2 separate regions of the Homo sapiens genome follow, and region 2 is linked to region 1. The links are contacts of gene promoters, found by promoter capture Hi-C in human tissues and cell types (Jung and others, 2019). All regions are on one chromosome and are shown on one strand. Each heading gives the region's core, a stretch centred on a gene start or on the middle of the fragment in contact. The rest is flanking DNA. Distances are from core to core; before and after follow the strand shown. Region 1 holds the start of SAAL1 (serum amyloid A like 1). Region 2 overlaps LDHAL6A (lactate dehydrogenase A like 6A).

Region 1 (3,212 bases), core at 480-2,979:
CAGCGAGACTCCGTCTCAAAATAAATAAAATAAATAAATAAATAAATAATTTCATGTCTCCATTCCTGTTTGGTCATTATATTGATATTTTTGAAATTTCATGTGGAAGTAGCTTATATCATCTATAAATTTAATTCCATTAAATCAAAGTGGGTACTTGTAAATCAATTCCATCATAGGTAATTTTTTTAGTTTAATGTTTACGATTCTTATGGAGAAAGAAGTGTTTTTCATTTACCTTTGCATGGGTGCTTAAAATACACATTTCTATTTCAAGATGACACTGAAAAATTCTTCTAATATAACAGCAGCAAAAATGTAATTCTGCAATTACAAAAGTGCTAAACTGAAATCCATAATTAAGGTTTTCTCATGTTTACAATTGTGGTTCTTTAATCAATACTAATACTATGCAGGTCTGTTGTAAGGTTTCTAGATTCGGTTTAAACACACGCACACAATACTGTCAGTTGTAGGAGGCTTTACAAGTTATATTTCATGCACTTTTTTTTAAAGAGTTCTAAAAGAGCCAACCAGTCCACAAGACAGACAGAAAAAAAGTTAAATTAACTGGAGTAAATTGGACTCTTAACATTCGAAACATGCAAGATTCTGCAGCAAACTGGGAGTACTTCAGGATTGGCCTGCTATCTTCCTTAGTATTAATTTCATCTTAACAGTTTAAGAAGTTGGACATTTTAACACCATCAAGCGCATTTAGGTGACGTGTTTCTTGTGTGTTAACTTGGCTCCCCGGAATGATCTAGTTAGTGAACTAGTCACTAATAATTTGGTCACCAGGCAAATCAAGCCTACACGAAAGGAAGCGACTATTCAAAATACCGTAGTATCATCTGAACCTACCCAAATAATTTATGTTCAACATAAACATGTAACTTCAATAATGAGATGACTCATTAATGAGTCAAGCTCCTCCAACAAGACAAAGACAACATCTCTTCTTCTAAGGTTTAAGTTTTGCATAGAAATCCGGATACATGGAATAGCCCATACCAACAGTCATTGCTCCTACAACAAAGCTGGACTGCCACACGCATGTGGATCAGGTGACGTGATATTTTAGTATTTCCCCTGCTTTTCAATTTGTATAATCCGTATGCAGCAACTACTGCAAAACCTGCCATTCCAATGGGGACAAATGGTGCCTCTTTAGTTTTTCGAATCACTTTGGATCCCTGGAATCCCTCACAAGCCATCCAGCTTCCCCTACGGATATTTTTAGGAATGGCAACAGTGGCCAGAGATCAGAGGATTATATTATTAGGGTTATACAACTTTTATATAAAAAAAGTGGCTTCTGACCAGGCGCGGTGGCTCACGTTTGTAATCCCAACACTTTGGGAGGCCGAGGCAGAAGGATTGCTTGAGCCAGAAGTTCGAGACCAGCCTGGGCAACATAGATCAGAAGGCGAATAGAATAAGTCCGCTAGCTTTGAGATTCACATCTGTTCCTGAGGCTTCCTCACTGCTCCCCACCCTTCCTTCTTCAATCAGTCTAAGAGCTCCTGGAGAAATGGAACACCTGATTCAGTGAGGGTGACAAATAATTATGAGTATGTTCGTGCCAGGGTCCTCGATAGGATGGGGTGGGGGAGGTCAAGCCGCCTTGGCAGCTGGCCAGGCTCCGAACAGCAGATGGCGCTGTAGGGGGAGTCCCACCGGGTACGCCGGGCGCTCTGGCACTAGGGCGCCGGTCGTCTCCTCCGCAGCTTCCGGCACGGCCTTCAAGCGCGGGACGCGACAAAGTCATGGACCGCAACCCCTCGCCGCCGCCGCCGGGTCGCGACAAGGAGGAGGAGGAGGAGGTGGCCGGTGGAGACTGCATAGGGAGCACGGTCTACAGCAAACACTGGCTCTTCGGCGTCCTCAGCGGACTCATCCAGGTGTGGAAACTCGCGCCACGCGTGGGGTGTCCCTACATCCCCCAGGCACCGGGGCTCCGCCTCTGGCGAATCCTCCTGCCCCGGGAGCCGCCATCCCCACAAAGACCCCTCCCCAGGCGTGCGCTGCGGGACCTTGCTCCTTGCGTTTCGCCGGCCGCTGCGGACCCCAAAACTATCTGGGCCCCCTCGGGGTCTCTCGACACAAAGGGAAGTATAATGGTAGGGATGCTGAAATACTTGCCGTTCTATTTTGCTTTCCCAAGTTCTCCAAAAATACATGATCGTGTAACTGCATTCCTCGGGTTTTGCTCCCCATCCCCACTGTCATTTCTGAAGCCCAGGTCCTTAATTTATGTATTTCATGGACTATCGTTGTAATAGAATAAATGGTGACTTTAGGGTTATACAACTTTTATATTAAAAACGTGGCTTCTGACCAGGCGCGGTGGCTCACCTCTGTAATCCCAACACTTTGGGAGGCCGAGGCGGAAGGATCGCTTGAGCCAGGAGTTTGAGACCAGCCTGGGCAACATAGACCTGGTTTCTACAAACTTAAAAAAAAAAAAAAAAAAAAGCCGGTCGTGACGGTGCACGCCTGTAGTCCCAGCGACTCAGGAGGCTGAGGCTGGAGGATCGCTTGAGCCTGAAGTTGGAGGCTGCAGTGAGCTATGATCCAGCTTCTGCACTCCAGGCTGGGGGACGGAGTAAGACCCTGTCTCAAAAAAACAAAAAACGCAGCTTCCTTACCCACTAGCTGCAGGTCACCTAACGGCTCAGAACCTCTATTTGTCCCTTAATTTCTATAAAATGGGATTATAATATTTATATTATATATAAGGTTATTGTGTAGGTTAAGTGAGATTATAATGGCAACAGAGTGCTTAGCATGGTGTTTGGCTTATAGGAGGCTGTCAGTAAATGTGTTTTCTTCCCCCCATGTTTCCCTAATTGGTTCCTCTCCTCCTATTGTCTATCCTCTCCAGTCAATTTTCTACACAGCTGCCAGAATAATCTTCTTTAAAGACAGGGCTATTCATGATACTGCTCTTAGTTCTTTTTGCCTGGGAGAAAAATGCATGTTTCTTGAAGTTTGGAATCCAGGGCTGTTTGTACATTTTCCAGCCTCATCTTCTCATGATACACTGTGTTCCATCAACTCTGAACTGTTCACCATCCCCAAACATGCTAGGCCCTTTCTTAACTCTGAACTCTTGTGCTTTCCTCTGAATACTCACTTCTCTCCTTCTTCACATGACAAACTACTATTCTTCCTTTAAAATTTAGCTTAAATATCAGCACCTAAGGGAA
Region 2 (3,212 bases), core at 516-3,015, 360 kb before region 1:
CACTCCTATAGTCCCAGTTACTTGGAGGCTGAGACCAAGAGGATCACACACGAGCCCAGAAGTCCAAGTCCAGCCTGCACCAACATAGCAAGACACTGTCTCAAAAACAAACCAAAACAAAACAAAACAAAAAAAAACAAAAAAAACACCTCACCTCCTAAAATACCTTTTGTATTATTTAGATGAAGAGGTCAAAATATGGATTACTCTGGCAAGAATATTTAGAGATAGATGTGGTGTGAACAGACCTTTGAATAGCAAATTGTTGGTTCATTCGTTTGTTCAAATAATTATCTCCCAGGTGCCAAGTGAATAAAGTACAGTAGTGAAGAGCTTAGGCTTTGGAATCAAACAGAACTGAGTTCAAATCCCTACTCCATCACTTTTTTTTTTTTTTTTGAGACAGAGTTTCACTCTTGTTGCCCAGGCTAGAATGCAATGGCACGATCTTGGCTCACCACAACCTCCACCTCCCAGGTTCAAGCGATTCTCCTGCCTCAGCCTCCTGAGTAGCTGGGGTTACAGGCATGCACCACCACGCCCGGCTAATTTTTATGTTTTTAATAGAGACAGGGTTTCTGTATGTTAGTCAGGCTGGTCTCGAACTCCCAACCTCAGGTGATCCACCTGCCTTGGCCTCCCAAAGTTCTGGGATTACAGGCATGAGCCACCATGCCTGGTCCTATCACTTTTAATTAACCTTAGTTCAGAGGTACATCATCTCTAAAATAGAGTTGTGCTCAGGATTAAATTATATAAAGTGCTTGGGTCAATGTCTCACACACAATAGGCAGTCAGTTCATTGTAGCTGTCATGATAACTGCTGTTACTGCTGCTCACAAGGAACTCAGTCTGGTGCCGTGGGAAACCTTGCAAAGTACAACCCAAGGAATCTGAACACGTTATGAGAGTACAGAGTAGGGAGCAACCAGCCTTATCTATAAAAACTGGGGAGGTCAAAAGAAATAAAGATGATTTTCTTAGATACTTGTTCATGTATATTAGAATATTTATAGTATTTAACTATGACATTAACCTTTGCTGGAGACAATATTTGGCATTTTCATAAAAGGGCTGCCATGTTGAAGATCCATTGTCTCACCCTTCAGTTTGCCTTCATCAACATCCACAAGGACAAGTTCATCACTCAAACCCTGAAAAACATTGTTAGTCCAATGGGTGTGAGTGTATCTCTTGATTAACTGGAGAATGAAAGAAAATTCTTATATTGGTGATCTATGTCTAGCTTGTGAATTATCAAAATCAAAGGAAACATAATAAATGATCTCATCATTTTGTCATGATATAAAAGTCTAAACCAGAAAAAATACAAATTACAAAGAGGAGCATTTCAGCTCATCATGAGGAAAACAAAAACAGAAACTGCTTAGTAAATAGAACAATCTCTGAAAGTAGTGAACACCCCGATTTTCAATTTCAGCTGAGGCTGCACAGTGATAAAGTAGTGCTTCTGCTGAAGGAATTTCTCACCAGACCTTGAGCTTCTTGAGACTAGGAAGTCATTCATCCCCAGCCATCTGGTGCTTACTTATCATCCACCTGGCACAGAGGAGCTCAGTAAAAGTTTTTTGAATAAATGGTATCTTAGTCCATTTTCTGTTCCTTATAACAGAATACATGAAACTGAGTACCTTATAAAGAAAAGGAATTTATTTCTTACAGTTATGGAGGCTGAGAAGTCCAAGGTCAGGGGGCCGCCATATGGTGAGGGCTTTCTTGCTGGAGGAGACTCTGCAGAGTCCCAAGGCAGCACAGGGCATCACATGGCAAGGAGGCTGCGATTGCTAAATTCAGGTCTGTCTTCCTCTTCTTATAAAGCTACCATTCCCACTCCCCTGATAACCCATTCATCCATAGATTAATCCATGGCAGAGCCCTCATGACCCAGTCAACTCTTAAAGGCCCCACCTCTCAATACTGCCACATTGAGGATTAAATTTAAACGAGTTCCAGAGGGGACAAACATTCAAACCACAGCAAATGGATTAAAATATAGGGCTCCTTCCAACTCAAAAATATTTTAGTTCTATAATCAGACAGTTATTACCTACAGAAATCAATTCATACTATAATTTCTATGATGCTACTTTATATGTAAGAAAGGAGAGAAAATATACTTCTATTTGAAAAAAAAAAAACACTAGAAATACAAGAAACTGATTCAAATAATTGCCTAAAGTGGATGCTAAGGAAAGATTGGATGGAAACCAGTATGACTTCTCCATGTATGTTTTTTTGTTTTTGTTTTTGTTTTTTTTTGAGATGGAGTCTCTTGCTCTGTTCCCCAGGCTGGAGTGCAGTGGTGCAATCTCGGCTCACTGCCACCTCCGCTTCCTGGGTTCTAGTGATTCTCCTGCCTCAGCTTCCTGAGTAGCTGGGATTACAGGCATGCACCACCATGCCCAGCTAATTTTTGGGTTTTTTTTGTTTTTTTTTTTGTTTGTTTGTTTGTTTTTTGAGACAGAGTCTTGCTCTGTTGCCCAGGCTGGAGTGCAGTGGCGTGATCTCGGCTCACTGCAAGCTCCGCCTCCCAGGTTCACGCCATTCTCCTGCCTCAGCCTCCCGAGTAGCTGGGACTACAGGCGCCCGCCACCACACCTGGCTAATTTTTTGTATTTTTAGTAGAGACGGGGTTTCACCGTGTTAGCCAGGATGGTCTTGATCTCCTGACCTAGTGATCCGCCCGCCTCTGCCTCCCAAAGTGCTGGGATTACAGGCATGAGACACCGCACCCGGCCAATTTTTTTGTATTTTTAGTAGAGACAGGGTTTCACCATGTTGGCCAGGCTGGTCTCAAACTCCTGACTTCAAGTGATCCACCTGCCCCGGTCTCTCAAAGTGATGGGATTACAGGCACAAGCCTTAATCCGCGCCCGGCCTTGTATGTATCTTTCTGAATTTTACTTTTACTTTTTGTTTCTGAGACAGGGGCTTGCTCTGTCCCCCAGGTAGGAGTACAGTAGCATGATCATGACTCATTGCAGCCTCAACTTTCTCAGGCTCAGATGATCCTCCCACCTCAGCCTTCTGGGTAGCTGGGACAACAGGCGCCTACCACCACATCACAGGAGCCTGCCACCACATCTGGCTAATTTTTGTATTTTTTGTAGACATGGGGTTTCACCATGTTGCCCAGGCTGGTCTCAAAGTCCAGGACTCAAGTGATCCGCCTGCCTCAGCCTACCAAAGTT

The links. The method cuts DNA at HindIII sites, captures the fragments that hold promoters and counts their contacts. A contact is called where the count stands out against the background at its distance.
Region 2: a contact is called between a fragment that was not itself captured here and the fragment with the promoter of SAAL1 in region 1, in 1 of the 25 tissues and cell types used here (hippocampus).

The regions. Positions count from the first base shown.
Region 1 is chr11:18,104,599-18,107,810 of GRCh38, reverse strand. SAAL1 (serum amyloid A like 1) reads left to right here and starts at 1,729. Exons shown (of 12, transcript NM_138421.3): 1 at 1,729-1,904. The coding sequence starts at 1,770. It also overlaps the pseudogene HIGD1AP5. RefSeq lists enhancers at 1,524-1,573, 1,724-1,983. The HindIII fragment of the contact is 11,884 bases long and covers 1-3,212 here.
Region 2 is chr11:18,461,903-18,465,114 of GRCh38, reverse strand. It overlaps LDHAL6A (lactate dehydrogenase A like 6A), which reads right to left. Exons shown (of 7, transcript NM_144972.5): 2 at 1,037-1,154. Among named protein-coding and RNA genes, the nearest start is that of LDHAL6A, 7.7 kb to the right of the region's middle. The HindIII fragment of the contact is 8,025 bases long and covers 1-3,212 here.